2 separate regions of the Homo sapiens genome follow, and region 1 is linked to region 2. Evidence: promoter capture Hi-C in human tissues and cell types (Jung and others, 2019). All regions are on one chromosome and are shown on one strand. The core of a region is centred on a gene start or on the middle of the fragment in contact, and the rest is flanking DNA. Distances in the headings are between cores, read along the strand shown. Region 1 has its middle 160 kb from the start of SNCA-AS1. Region 2 holds the start of SNCA (synuclein alpha).

Region 1 (6,135 bases), core at 1,900-4,399, 160 kb after region 2:
TTTTATGGCTGCATAGTATTCCATGGTGTACATGTGCCACATTTTCTTAATCCAGTCTATCATTGGTGGACATTTGGGTTGATTCCAAGTCTTTGCTATTGTGAATAGTGCCACAATAAACATACGTGTGCATGTGTCTTTATCATAGAATGATTTATAATGCTTTGGGTATATCCCCAGTAATGGGATTGCTGGGTCAAATGGTATTTCCAGTTCTAGATCCTTGAGGAATTGCCACACTGTCTTCCATAATGGTTGAACTAATTTACACTCCCACCAATAGTGTAAAAACATTACTATTTGTCCACAACCTCTCCAGCATCTGTTGTTTCGTAACTTTTTAGTGATTGCCATTCTAACTGGTGTGAGATGGTATCTCATTGTGGTTTTGATTTGCATTTCTCTAATGACCAGTGATAATGAGCATTTTTTCATATGTCTGTTGGCTGCATAAATGCCTTCTTTTGAGAAGTGTCTGTTCATATCGTTTGCCCATTTTTTGATGGTGGTTTGTTTTTTTCTTGTACATTTATTTAAGTTGTTTGTAGATTCTGGATATTAGCCCTTTGTCAGACGGATAGATTGCAAATATTTTCTCCCATTCTTTAGGTTGTCTGTTCACTCTGATGATAGCTTCTTTTGCTGTGCAGAAGCTCTTTAGTTTAATTAGATCACATTTGTCAATTTTGGCTTTTGTTGCTATTGCTTTTGGTGTTTTAGACATGAAGTGTTTGCTCATGCTTATGTCCTGTATAGTATTGCCCAGGTTTTCTTCTAGGGTTTTTATGGTCCTAGGTCTTACGTTTAAGTCTTTGATCCATCTTAAGGTGATTTTTGTAAAAGGTGTAAGGAAGGGGTCCAGTTTCAGTTTTCTGCATATGGCTAGCCAGTTTTCCCAACACTATTTACTAAATAGGGAATCTTTTCCCCATTGCTTGTGCGTGTCAGGTTTGTCAAAGATCAGATGGTTGTAGCTGTGTGGTGTTATTTCTGAGGTCTCCGTTCTGTTCCATTGGTCTATATATCTGTCCTGCCACCAGTACCATGCTGTTTGGGTTACTGTAGCCTTGTAGTATAGTTTGAAGTCAGGTAGCATGATGACTCCAGCTTTGTTCTTCTTGCCCAGGATTGTCTTGGCTATGCAGACTCCTTTTTGGTTCCATATGAAGTTTAAAATAGTATTTTTCCAATTCTGTGAAGAAAGTCAGTGGTAGCTTGATGGGGATAGCATTGAATCTATAAATTACTTTGGGCAGTATGGCCATTTTCACCACATTGATTCTTCCTACCCATGAGCATGGAATGTTCTTCCATTTATTTGTGTCTTCTTTTATTTCATTCAGCAGTGATATGTAGTTCTCCTTGAAGAGGTCCTTCACATCCCTTGTAAGTTGGACTCCTAGGTATTTTATTCTTTTAGTAGCAATTGTGAATGGGAGTTCACTCATGATTTGGCTGTTTGTCTGTTATTGGTGTGTAGGAATGCTTGTGATTTTTGCACATTGATTTTATAACCTGAGACTTTGCTGAAGTTGCTTATCAGCTTAAGGAGGTTTTGGGCTGAGATGATGGGGTTTTCTAAATATACAATCATGTCATCTGCAAACAGAGACAATTTGACTTTCTCTCTTCCTTTCTGAATACCACTTATTGCTTTCTCTTGCCTGATTGCCCTGGCCAGAACTTCCAGTACTATGTTGAATAGGAGTGGTGAGAGAGGGCATCCCTGTCTTGTGCCAGTTTTCAAAGAGAATGCTTCTAGCTTTTGCCCATTCAGTATGATATTGGCTGTGGGTTTGTCATAAATAGCTCTATTTTGAGATATGTTCCATTGATACCTAGTTTATTGAAAGTTTTTAGCATGAAGCCCTGTTGAATTTTGTCAAAGGCCTTTTCTGCATCTATTGAGATAACCATGTGGTTTTTGTCATTGGTTCTGTTTGTATGATGGATTACATTTATTGATTTGCATATGTTGAACCAGCCTTACATCGCAGGGATGAAGCCAACTTGATCATGCTGGATATGCTTTTTGATGTGCTGCTGGATTCAGTTTGCCAGGATTTTATTGAGGACTTTCACATCGATGTTCATCAGGGATGTTGGCCTGAAATTTTCTTTTTTTGTTGTGTCTCTACCAGGTTTTGGTATCAGGATGATGCTGTCCTCATAAAATGAGTTAGGGAGGAGTCCCTTTTTTTCTATTGTTTGGAATAGTTTCAGAAGAAATAGTACCAGCTCCTCTTTGTACCTCTGGTAGAATTCGTGTTGGGATTCACTCAGGATGGTGGCAGAAATATTAAAGGGAAATATTAGGGAAAGTTATAGGGAATAGTCACAAATCTTTTGGAAGGCCGAAAGGTTACATAGCTTGTAATAACTGAACAGGGCAAAGGCAGCCTGTTCTTACCTTAGAGCATTAGGTCATAGCGTAAATATTAGGGACAATAGAGGCTTCTCCAGTTAAGTGTGTTTACCCTACCTCCATTAACTAACCTTTGAGCCAGATGGCTCTCTCGGTGGGGGAGAGGTCTAAGAGGCAAATTGCCCCCTCATGGTAGTTACTTTAGACCCCGGTACCTGAGCTTTAATCATTCCTAGAACTACTCTCTTAACCATGTTAGTTATCCGCAAGTGTGTTTACTCAAAGCTTCTGTTGTTAATTGTATACCAAATAAATGCCTGGAATGCGAACTGCTCAGGGCCGGCCACAGTGACAAACCTCTCTTGATGTGCAGGCAGTTGGACACTCAGCTGAACTGGCAAAACAAAATATCTGTGTGTCAGGGTACATTTTATTCATCCATCGTTTGGGTCAGGGTCTGCAGGCAGACCCCCGCAGCTAATGCCCCCAAGTGTGAAGAGCAATACCTCAAATTTGGCTGTGAATCCATCTGGTCCTGGACTTTTTTTGGTTGGTAGGCTATTAATTACCGCCTCAATTTCAGAACTTGTTGTTGGTCTATTCGGGGATTCAACTTCTTCTTGGCTTAGACTTGGGAGGGTGTATGTGTCCAGGAATTTATCCATTTCTTCTAGATTTTCTAGTTTATTTGCATAGAGGTGTTTATAGTATTCTCTGATGGTAGTTTGTATTTCTGTGGGATCAGTGGTGATATCCCCTATGTCATTTTTTATTGCGTCTATTTGATTCTTCTCTCTTTTCTTCTTTATTAGTCTGGCTAGCGGGTTATCTATTTTGTTGGTTTTTTTTTTGTTTTTTGTTTTCAAAAAAAAAAAAAAAAACAGTTCCTGGATTCATTGATCTTTTTTTGAACGGTTTTTCATGTCTGTATCTCCTTCAGTTCTGCTCTGATCTTAGTTATTTCATGTCTTCTGCTAGCTTTTGAATTTCTTTGCTGTTGCTTCTCTAGTTCTTTTAATTTTCATGTTAGGGTGTCAATTTTAGATCTTTCCTGCTCTCTTTTGTGGGCATTAATGTTATAAATTTCCCTCTAAACACTGTTTTAAATGTGTCCCAGAAATTCTGGTACATTGTGTCTTCATTCTCATTGGTTTTAAAGAACATCTTTATTTCTGCCTTCATTTTGTTATTTACCCAGTAGTCATTCAGGAGCAGACTGTTCAGTTTCCATGTATTTGTGTGGTTTTGAATGGGTTTCTTAATCCTGAGTTCTAATTTGATTGCACTGTGGCCTGAGAGACTGTTATGATTTCTGTTCTTTTGCATTTGCTAAAGAGTGTTTTACTTCCAATTATGTGGTCAATTTTAGAATAAGTGCTATGAGGTGCTGAGAAGAATGTATATTTTGTTGATTTCAGGTGGAGAGTTCTGCAGATGTCTGTTAGATCTGCTTGATCCAGAGCTGAGTTCAAGTCCTGAATATCCTTGTTAATTTTCATTGATCTGTCTAATATTGACAGTGGGGTGTTAAAGTCTCCCACTATTATTGTGTGGGACTCTAAGTCTCTTTGTAGGTCTCTAAGAACTTGCTTTATGAATCTTGGTGCTCCTGTATTGGGTGCATATGTATTTAGGATAGTTAGCTCTTCTTGCTGCATTGTTCCCTTTACCATTATGTAATGTCCTTCTTTGTCTCTTTTGATCTTTGTTGGTTTAAAGTCTATTTTGTCAGATATTAGGATTAGGATTGCGACTCCTGCTTTTTTTTTTTTTTTTTTTTTTTTTGCTTTCCATTTGATTGGTAAATATTCCTCTATCCCTTTATTGTGAGCCTATGTGTGTCTTTGCATGTGAGATGGGTCTCCTGAATACAGCACATTGATGGGTCTTGACTCTTTATCCAATTTGCCAGTCTGTGTCTTTTAATTGGGGCATTTAGCCCATTCAACTTAAGGTTAATATTGTTATGTGTGAATTTGATCCTGTCATTATGATGTTAGCTGGTTATTTTGCCCGTTAATTGATGCAGTTTCTTCACAGCATTGATGGTCTTTACAATTTGGTATTTTTTGCAGTGGCTGGTACTGGTTGTTCGTTTCCATGTTTACTGCTTCTTTCAGGAGCTCTTGTAAGGCAGGTCTGGTGGTGACAAAATCCCTCAGTATTTGCTTGTCTGTAAAGGATTTTATTTCTCCTTCACTTATGAAGCTTAGTTTGGCTGGATAGGAAATTCTGGGTTGAAAATTATTTTCTTTAAGAATGTTGAATATTGGCCCCCACTCTCTTCTGGCTTGTAGGGTTTCTGCAGAGAAATCTGCTGTTAGTCTGATGGGCTTCCCTTTGTGGGTAACCCGACCTTTCTCTCTGGCTGCCCTTAACATTTTTTCCTTCATTTCAACCTTGGTGAATCTGACAATTATGTGTCTTGGGGTTGTTCTTCTCGAGGAGTATCTTTGTGGTGTTCTCTGTATTTCCTGGATTTGGATGTTGGCCTGTCTTGCTAGGTTGGGGAAGTTCTCCTGGATAATATCCTGAAGAGTGTTTTCCAACTTGGTTGGAAGCATAGTCCCATATTTCTTGGAGGATTTGTTTATTCCTTTTTATTCTTTTTTCTCTAATCTTATCTTCTCTCTTTATTTCATTATGTTGATCTTCAGTCACTGATATCCTTTCTGCTGCTTGATTGATTCGGCTATTGATACTTGTGTATTCTTCACAAAGTTCTCATGCTGTGTTTTTCAGCTCCATCAGGTCATTTACATTCTTCTCTACATTGATTATTCTAGTTAGCAATTCAACTAACTTTTTTCAAGGTTCTTAGCTTCCTTGCATTGGGTTAGAACATACTCCTTTAGCTCGGAGTTGTTTGTTATTACCCACCTTCTGAAGCCTACTTCTGTCAATTTGTCAAACTCATTCTCCATCCAGTTTTGTTCCTTTGCTGGCAAGGAGTTTTGATCCTTTGGAGAAGAGGCATTCTGGTTTTTGGAATTTTCAGCCTTTTTGTGCTGCTTTTTCCCCATCTTTGTGGATTAATCTACCTTTGGTCTTTGATGTTGGTGACCTTCAGATGGGGTCTTTGAGTGGACATGCTAATCCTTTCTTTTTGTTTCTTTTCCTTGTAACAGTCAGGCCCCTTTTCTGCCAGCCTGCTGGAGTTTGCTGGAGGTCCACTCCCTACCCTGTTTGCCTGGGTATCACTAGTGGAAGCTGCAGAGCAGCAAAGATTGCTGCCTGTTCTTTCCTCTGGAAGCTTCAACCCAGCAGTCACCTGCCAGATGCCAGCCAGAGCTCTCCTTGTATGAGGTGACTGTCACCCCAACTGGGAGGTGTCTCCCAATTGGTATACATGGGGATCAGGGACCCACTTGAGGAGGCAGACTGACCCTTAGCAGAGCCCAAACACTGTGCTGGGAGGTCTGCTGCTCTCTTCAGAGCTATCAGGTAGGGACGTTTAAGTCTGCTATAAGCCCCTGACTGGGGCTGCTGCCTTTTTTACAGAGATGCCTTGTCCAGAGGGGAGCAATCTGGCAGTTGGGCCACAGCAGCCTTGCTGAGCTGCAGTGGGCTCCACCCAGTTCGAACTTCCTAGCAGCTTTGTTACCCTTGCTGTAAAACTGTCTACTCAAGCCTCAGCAATGGCAGACACCCCTCCCTCACACCAAGCTCCACCGTCCCAGGTGGATCTCAGATTGCTGCTGTGCTGGCAGTGAGAATTTCAAGCCAGTGGATCTTAGTTTCCTGGGCTCTGTGGGGGTGGGACCCACCGA
Region 2 (6,665 bases), core at 2,888-5,387:
CTTTTCTATCTGGCTTTAACATCTTTAATCTTGGAATCTTGCATGCCTTCATATTCTTAGGACCACGAAACCACAGGAATATTTAAAATGATATCTAGTGGAAACAATATGAAGTTGGCCATGGGGTCAAATTAGAGAATCTGAATACTATGCTTCTCCTTGATTGCTCTTCCCATTTCTTCAGAGTAACCCTATTCCCCCATCTCATGCTCACCCCCTTTCCAAAATCATACATAATGATCTCCCAACAGTATGCATTAGGCTTTCTCTACTCTACCCACTATGAAATTACACAAGAAGCCTATCGCAATCTCACTACCTCGTCTCTCTCACAGGTTTACAGAAGGTGAGAGGAAGGTGCAGATAGAGAATAAGAAGCAGGTGGCTCCAGCATCAACATTACATCACCCCTTGTGTTCACAACAAATACGGAATATTATCCAAAGATAATAAACGTTGTATTTTCTTAACTTAAACACATTAAATCAGTCCTCTCTTTAATCAATTGTTAATGGGCAGCATCTTTATTTTCATGCCATTCTACTCTGCTGTCTTTGCTATAGCACAAGTTTACCACATACCATACCTAAAAATTCAGTTGTTCTATGGGGGTAAACAAAGTCTAGGTTAAGCATATATTTCATAGAATGTTAATCTATAGCAAAATTAATGAATTAAATCCAGATAAAAGAATCCTATTATGGTCTGGTAAAATATTTATATTTCACTTAGCAAAGAGAAAACAAAACATGAATATTGTAGTTATGAACAGAATATGCATGTTAGTAATGCTTCCAAATATGTTATTACTTCATAACTTCATATTTCTTATGAGGTACAAGCCATTCAATTAGTTTAACGTTATATTCAGAGAGGCTAAAGATTTACTGAAGACCATGCTGTCCATCAATAATGAAAAGAAAAATTAAAAAAACTTTATTTTAACTTCTAGTTCCCTTCTTTGTACTTGAGCAGCTTTCCCTCCTTAAGAATACAGACCTAGAACATATGCAATATCACTATCAATATTATGTGTAATTAAAAGTTCATTGGATGTTTACTGTGTTCAAGGCATTTTAAGGAGTGACAAGAGTTAAACATATAGTTGTAATTCAAAATGACAACGAAATTAGTTTACAGTTTTCTTTTTTTGTAGGTAGTAAGAAATCATCTCCCCCTATTGAGGAATACCAATATAGAAAAGGCAAAACTTTAAATATGAATGAACTGTTTCATAATAACATAAGTTCTTCTTGATTTCCATTGTCACATCCAAATTTGAAGGCTATTTCTAACACAGCTGGGTTCTACCTTTTTCCTTCTCACTCTTTACCACACCCAATCTGTGAGGCTTCAGACACAAACTGCTAATTCAGGAGACAATTGTGCCTTCTGTAACAGTTTCTGCTAAATTGTCTCAGCTCTGCCACTTAAAATAGCTAGGTGATCTCAGCATATCACCAAAACTCTTGGAGCTCAGTTTCTCTGTCTATAAAAGTTACATAAAATGTAATTGATCTGCTTGTTATGACTAAATAACATAGTACATTAGTCCTTTGCCAAAGGACTAACAAATTACCAAATAAAAGTTTGGAATCATGTTAAACGTTTATAAGAAGTGCAACTGTCCAGAAATAATTCTCTCACATTGGTCTGTTGTAATGAGACCTAAAATATCTCATTTTATTTACCTCTTTGACTTAAAGCACTAGGTCTCAAGGAGGTCATGGTTATACTATAAATATGTCATGTGAAATAATATATTAAATAATTGTTGTAATACTCTATTGAGATACTAGTTGTAAAGAGGCACAATGGAAAACTTATACTATTAACAGTAGTAAAAAGAAACAACAAAAAGCAATAAAAAACAAAACACCCATTCATGCAACGACATGAACGAACCTCACAAATATTATACTGAGTAAAAGAAGTCAGACAAATATAAAACAAAGTTTATACTACGTGATTAGATCTTTATGACATTCTAGAATATGCACATGAAGGTACAAGGTAACTGTCTGGAATGATGAAAATGTCCTGTGTCTTCAAAATAGTGTGGGTTACACTAATGCATGGCTTTTTCAAAACTGATTTAAAGGGACACAACATCTGAGCATTTCCCTAGGTGTAAATTACACTGCAATTTTAAAGAATCATCTAATGATATTGTGGTTATTTTTAAACAGTCCTTAAATTTTGTGGATGCATACTGAATGTTTACAGCTGAAAAGATATATATAAAGCTTGAATTTGGTAAAAAAAAAAAAAAAAGAGGGAGGATTGGTAGTGATAAAGTGAGTGGACTTATGGATGAGACATGATCAGCCATGCATTGAAAAAATGTAAAAGTTGGATGATCTTCACATGAGAGTCCTTTATTCTGTCTACTTTTGCATATGTTTGAATATTTCCCATAACAAAAAGTTGAAAATAGAGTGATCACATGAGTTAATCTCCTAATTTACAAAAAAGAAAACTGGAAACAGAAGGAGAACAAAACTTGTTCAAGGTCTCAAAGCCAGACAGCAAACTAGCTCCCAAGTCCAACCTTCTTGCTCTGGTCCTAAGCAAACAAAAAATATTAATATGAGCTACTGCATTAAGGAAAGTCTGCTTTTCCAAAGGGCAGACCAATAGTTCAAGGAAGAGTTTAAATAATAAATATTTGTGATCTTACTTTCATGCTTTTCTATTTTCCACTGAACACATATGCATTATCTTCTATATGTCTTTTATGTATAATCATTTGCTTCCTGTTCCTTGTGGTTTTAAAGTTGTTTTGTATGTTTAAATTTGATTTTACTCAAATTTCAGAACCCAAATTAGCGCAAGAATCAGACAAAGCATAACTTTCTATAAATATAAAAACAATTAAAAAAAAAACATACAGCAAAAACGAGTTGTTGTTTCCCCCCTCCTCTTCCAGTGCTTAACTAATCTTCCGAATCCAGGCACAGAAAGCAAAGGCTTTCTGCTAGTGGGAGGAGCTTGCTTCTCCATTCTGGTGTGATCCAGGAACAGCTGTCTTCCAGCTCTGAAAGAGGTGAAAATGTGTTAAGCGATGCAAAAATTGTCTTGAAGTTCGCGTGTGTATGTCTGTGTGCATGTGCGTGTGGTGGGTGGGGGGAGAGAAAAGGGGGTGTCAATTCTGAGGGCAACGAGAATCAGAAGTCAGAAAGGTGAGTGGTGTGTAGCATCTCCCTTTCAGAAGGGGCTGAAGAAGAAATTGGATATGATGGTCCGGTAGGCTAAATCACGCTGGATTTGTCTCCCAGATAAAGGGAGGTCTGCAAAGTAAGTCCCATTTCTAGAGCGAAAAGCCTTAGGACCGCTTGTTTTAGACGGCTGGGGAATATTTATTCCTTGTTCCACTGATGGGAAAATCAGCGTCTGGCAGGCGCTGATTGGTGGAAAGGAAAATGGTGATAGTGGCGTGGAAAGAGGATTTGCTGAGCCTTCTCCTGCCTCCTCAACCTGTGACTCTTCCTTAGTAGTCTCCCTTTCACCCTCAGGACCCTTTCCGGCTCTTCCTAGATTAAGAGCAAACGAAAACCTTGAAGATATTTGAACTAAAGCGACCCCTAACGTTGTAACCTGTGACCGTGATTAAATTTCAGCGATGCGAGGGCAAAGCGCTCTCGGCGGTGCGGTGTGAGCCACCTCCCGGCGCTGCCTGTCTCCTCCAGCAGCTCCCCAAGGGATAGGCTCTGCCCTTGGTGGTCGACCCTCAGGCCCTCGGCTCTCCCAGGGCGACTCTGACGAGGGGTAGGGGGTGGTCCCCGGGAGGACCCAGAGGAAAGGCGGGGACAAGAAGGGAGGGGAAGGGGAAAGAGGAAGAGGCATCATCCCTAGCCCAACCGCTCCCGATCTCCACAAGAGTGCTCGTGACCCTAAACTTAACGTGAGGCGCAAAAGCGCCCCCACTTTCCCGCCTTGCGCGGCCAGGCAGGCGGCTGGAGTTGATGGCTCACCCCGCGCCCCCTGCCCCATCCCCATCCGAGATAGGGACGAGGAGCACGCTGCAGGGAAAGCAGCGAGCGCCGGGAGAGGGGCGGGCAGAAGCGCTGACAAATCAGCGGTGGGGGCGGAGAGCCGAGGAGAAGGAGAAGGAGGAGGACTAGGAGGAGGAGGACGGCGACGACCAGAAGGGGCCCAAGAGAGGGGGCGAGCGACCGAGCGCCGCGACGCGGAAGTGAGGTGCGTGCGGGCTGCAGCGCAGACCCCGGCCCGGCCCCTCCGAGAGCGTCCTGGGCGCTCCCTCACGCCTTGCCTTCAAGCCTTCTGCCTTTCCACCCTCGTGAGCGGAGAACTGGGAGTGGCCATTCGACGACAGGTTAGCGGGTTTGCCTCCCACTCCCCCAGCCTCGCGTCGCCGGCTCACAGCGGCCTCCTCTGGGGACAGTCCCCCCCGGGTGCCGCCTCCGCCCTTCCTGTGCGCTCCTTTTCCTTCTTCTTTCCTATTAAATATTATTTGGGAATTGTTTAAATTTTTTTTTTAAAAAAAGAGAGAGGCGGGGAGGAGTCGGAGTTGTGGAGAAGCAGAGGGACTCAGGTAAGTACCTGTGGATCTAAACGGGCGTCTTTGGAAATCCTGGAGAACGCCGGATGGGAGACGAATGGTCGTGGGCACCGGGAGGGGGTGGTGCTGCCATGAGGACCCGCTGGGCCAGGTCTCTGGGAGGTGAGTACTTGTCCCTTTGGGGAGCCTAAGGAAAGAGACTTGACCTGGCTTTCGTCCTGCTTCTGATATTCCCTTCTCCACAAGGGCTGAGAGATTAGGCTGCTTCTCCGGGATCCGCTTTTCCCCGGGAAACGCGAGGATGCTCCATGGAGCGTGAGCATCCAACTTTTCTCTCACATAAAATCTGTCTGCCCGCTCTCTTGGTTTTTCTCTGTAAAGTAAGCAAGCTGCGTTTGGCAAATAATGAAATGGAAGTGCAAGGAGGCCAAGTCAACAGGTGGTAACGGGTTAACAAGTGCTGGCGCGGGGTCCGCTAGGGTGGAGGCTGAGAACGCCCCCTCGGGTGGCTGGCGCGGGGTTGGAGACGGCCCGCGAGTGTGAGCGGCGCCTGCTCAGGGTAGATAGCTGAGGGCGGGGGTGGATGTTGGATGGATTAGAACCATCACACTTGGGCCTGCTGTTTGCCTGAGTTTGAACCACACCCCGAGTGAGCAGTTAGTTCTGTTGCCTACGCCTTTCCACCATCAACCTGTTAGCCTTCTTCTGGGATTCATGTTAAGGATACCCCTGACCCTAAGCCTCCAGCTTCCATGCTTCTAACTCATACTGTTACCCTTTAGACCCCGGGAATTTAAAAAAGGGGTTAATCTTTTCATGCAACTCCACTTCTGAAATGCAGTAATAACAACTCAGAGGATTCATCCTAATCCGTGGTTAGGTGGCTAGACTTTTACTAGCCAAGATGGATGGGAGATGCTAAATTTTTAATGCCAGAGCTAAAAATGTCTGCTTTGTCCAATGGTTAAATGAGTGTACACTTAAAAGAGTCTCACACTTTGGAGGGTTTCTCATGATTTTTCAGTGTTTTTTGTTTATTTTTCCCCGAAAGTTCTCATTCAAAGTGTATTTTATGTTTTCCAGTGTGGTGTAAAGGAATTCATTAGCCATGGATGTATTCATGAAAGGACTTTCAAAGGCCAAGGAGGGAGTTGTGGCTGCTGCTGAGAAAACCAAACAGGGTGTGGCAGAAGCAGCAGGAAAGACAAAAGAGGGTGTTCTCTATGTAGGTAGGTAAACCCCAAATGTCAGTTTGGTGCTTGTTCATGAGTGATGGGTTAGGATAATCAATACTCTAAATGCTGGTAGTTCTCTCTCTTGATTCATTTTTGCATCATTGCTTGTCAAAAAGGTGGACTGAGTCAGAGGTATGTGTAGGTAGGTGAATGTGAACGTGTGTATTTGAGCTAATAGTAAAAAATGCGACTGTTTGCTTTTCCAGATTTTTAATTTTGCCCTAATATTTATGACTTTTTAAAAATGAATGTTTCTGTACCTACATAATTCTATTTCAGAGAACAGTTTTAAAAACTCATAGTCTTTTAAAAAATAATCAAGAATATTCTTAAGAATCAAAATCATTGATGGATCTGTGATTTCTTTTACCATCATGAAAAATGTTTGTCAATTTTAATCCATTCTGATTTTTAAAATATGACTTTGATATGCCCCTGTGATGTGTATAAAGAGACCTATTTGTGGCCCTAAAATGGAAAGAACAGATTAGTCTTTGATAGAGTTACTTCATGTGATCATTTGGTCTCTGTGAACACTGAGGACAGAGAAAAGTGCTTGAGGGCTGCTACTAATCTCTCAGAAACATTTGTATAGTTCATCCATCAAATGACACACATACTAAAAGAATAAAGAAATTGATGCTTATTACCTACTTGTTCCTAAAGTTCCACCTTGGGGTATACACCCAAACTCTGACTCTCTTTTCTGTAACTTGAACTGTATTCAATTGAGTGTTATTTTACAAACCACTTTGAATTCCTTGGAAAAGAATAGACACACACTCTCATCCACAGGCATAGACACACACACTCAACACAGACACATTGCCCATTCTTCCTCTCTTCTTTCTCCTCTGAGCTTTTTCACATTCTCTGGTGGCAACTATAGCAGTAAGAGTCACAGGATG

What was found. Contacts are between HindIII fragments. The study calls those that stand out against the background at their distance.
Region 1: a fragment that was not itself captured here is called in contact with the fragment with the promoter of SNCA in region 2 in 4 of the 25 tissues and cell types used here (H1 embryonic stem cells, aorta, heart right ventricle and 1 more).

The regions. Positions count from the first base shown.
Region 1 is chr4:89,671,631-89,677,765 of GRCh38, reverse strand. No RefSeq gene overlaps it. Among named protein-coding and RNA genes, the nearest start is that of SNCA-AS1, 160 kb to the left of the region's middle. The HindIII fragment of the contact is 6,049 bases long and covers 125-6,135 here.
Region 2 is chr4:89,834,633-89,841,297 of GRCh38, reverse strand. SNCA (synuclein alpha) reads left to right here and starts at 4,137. Exons shown (of 6, transcript NM_000345.4): 1 at 4,137-4,336; 2 at 5,606-5,751. The coding sequence starts at 5,631. SNCA-AS1 (SNCA antisense RNA 1) reads right to left here and starts at 4,897. Exons shown (of 4, transcript NR_045481.1): 1 at 4,564-4,897; 2 at 2,892-3,037. The HindIII fragment of the contact is 14,325 bases long and covers 1-6,665 here.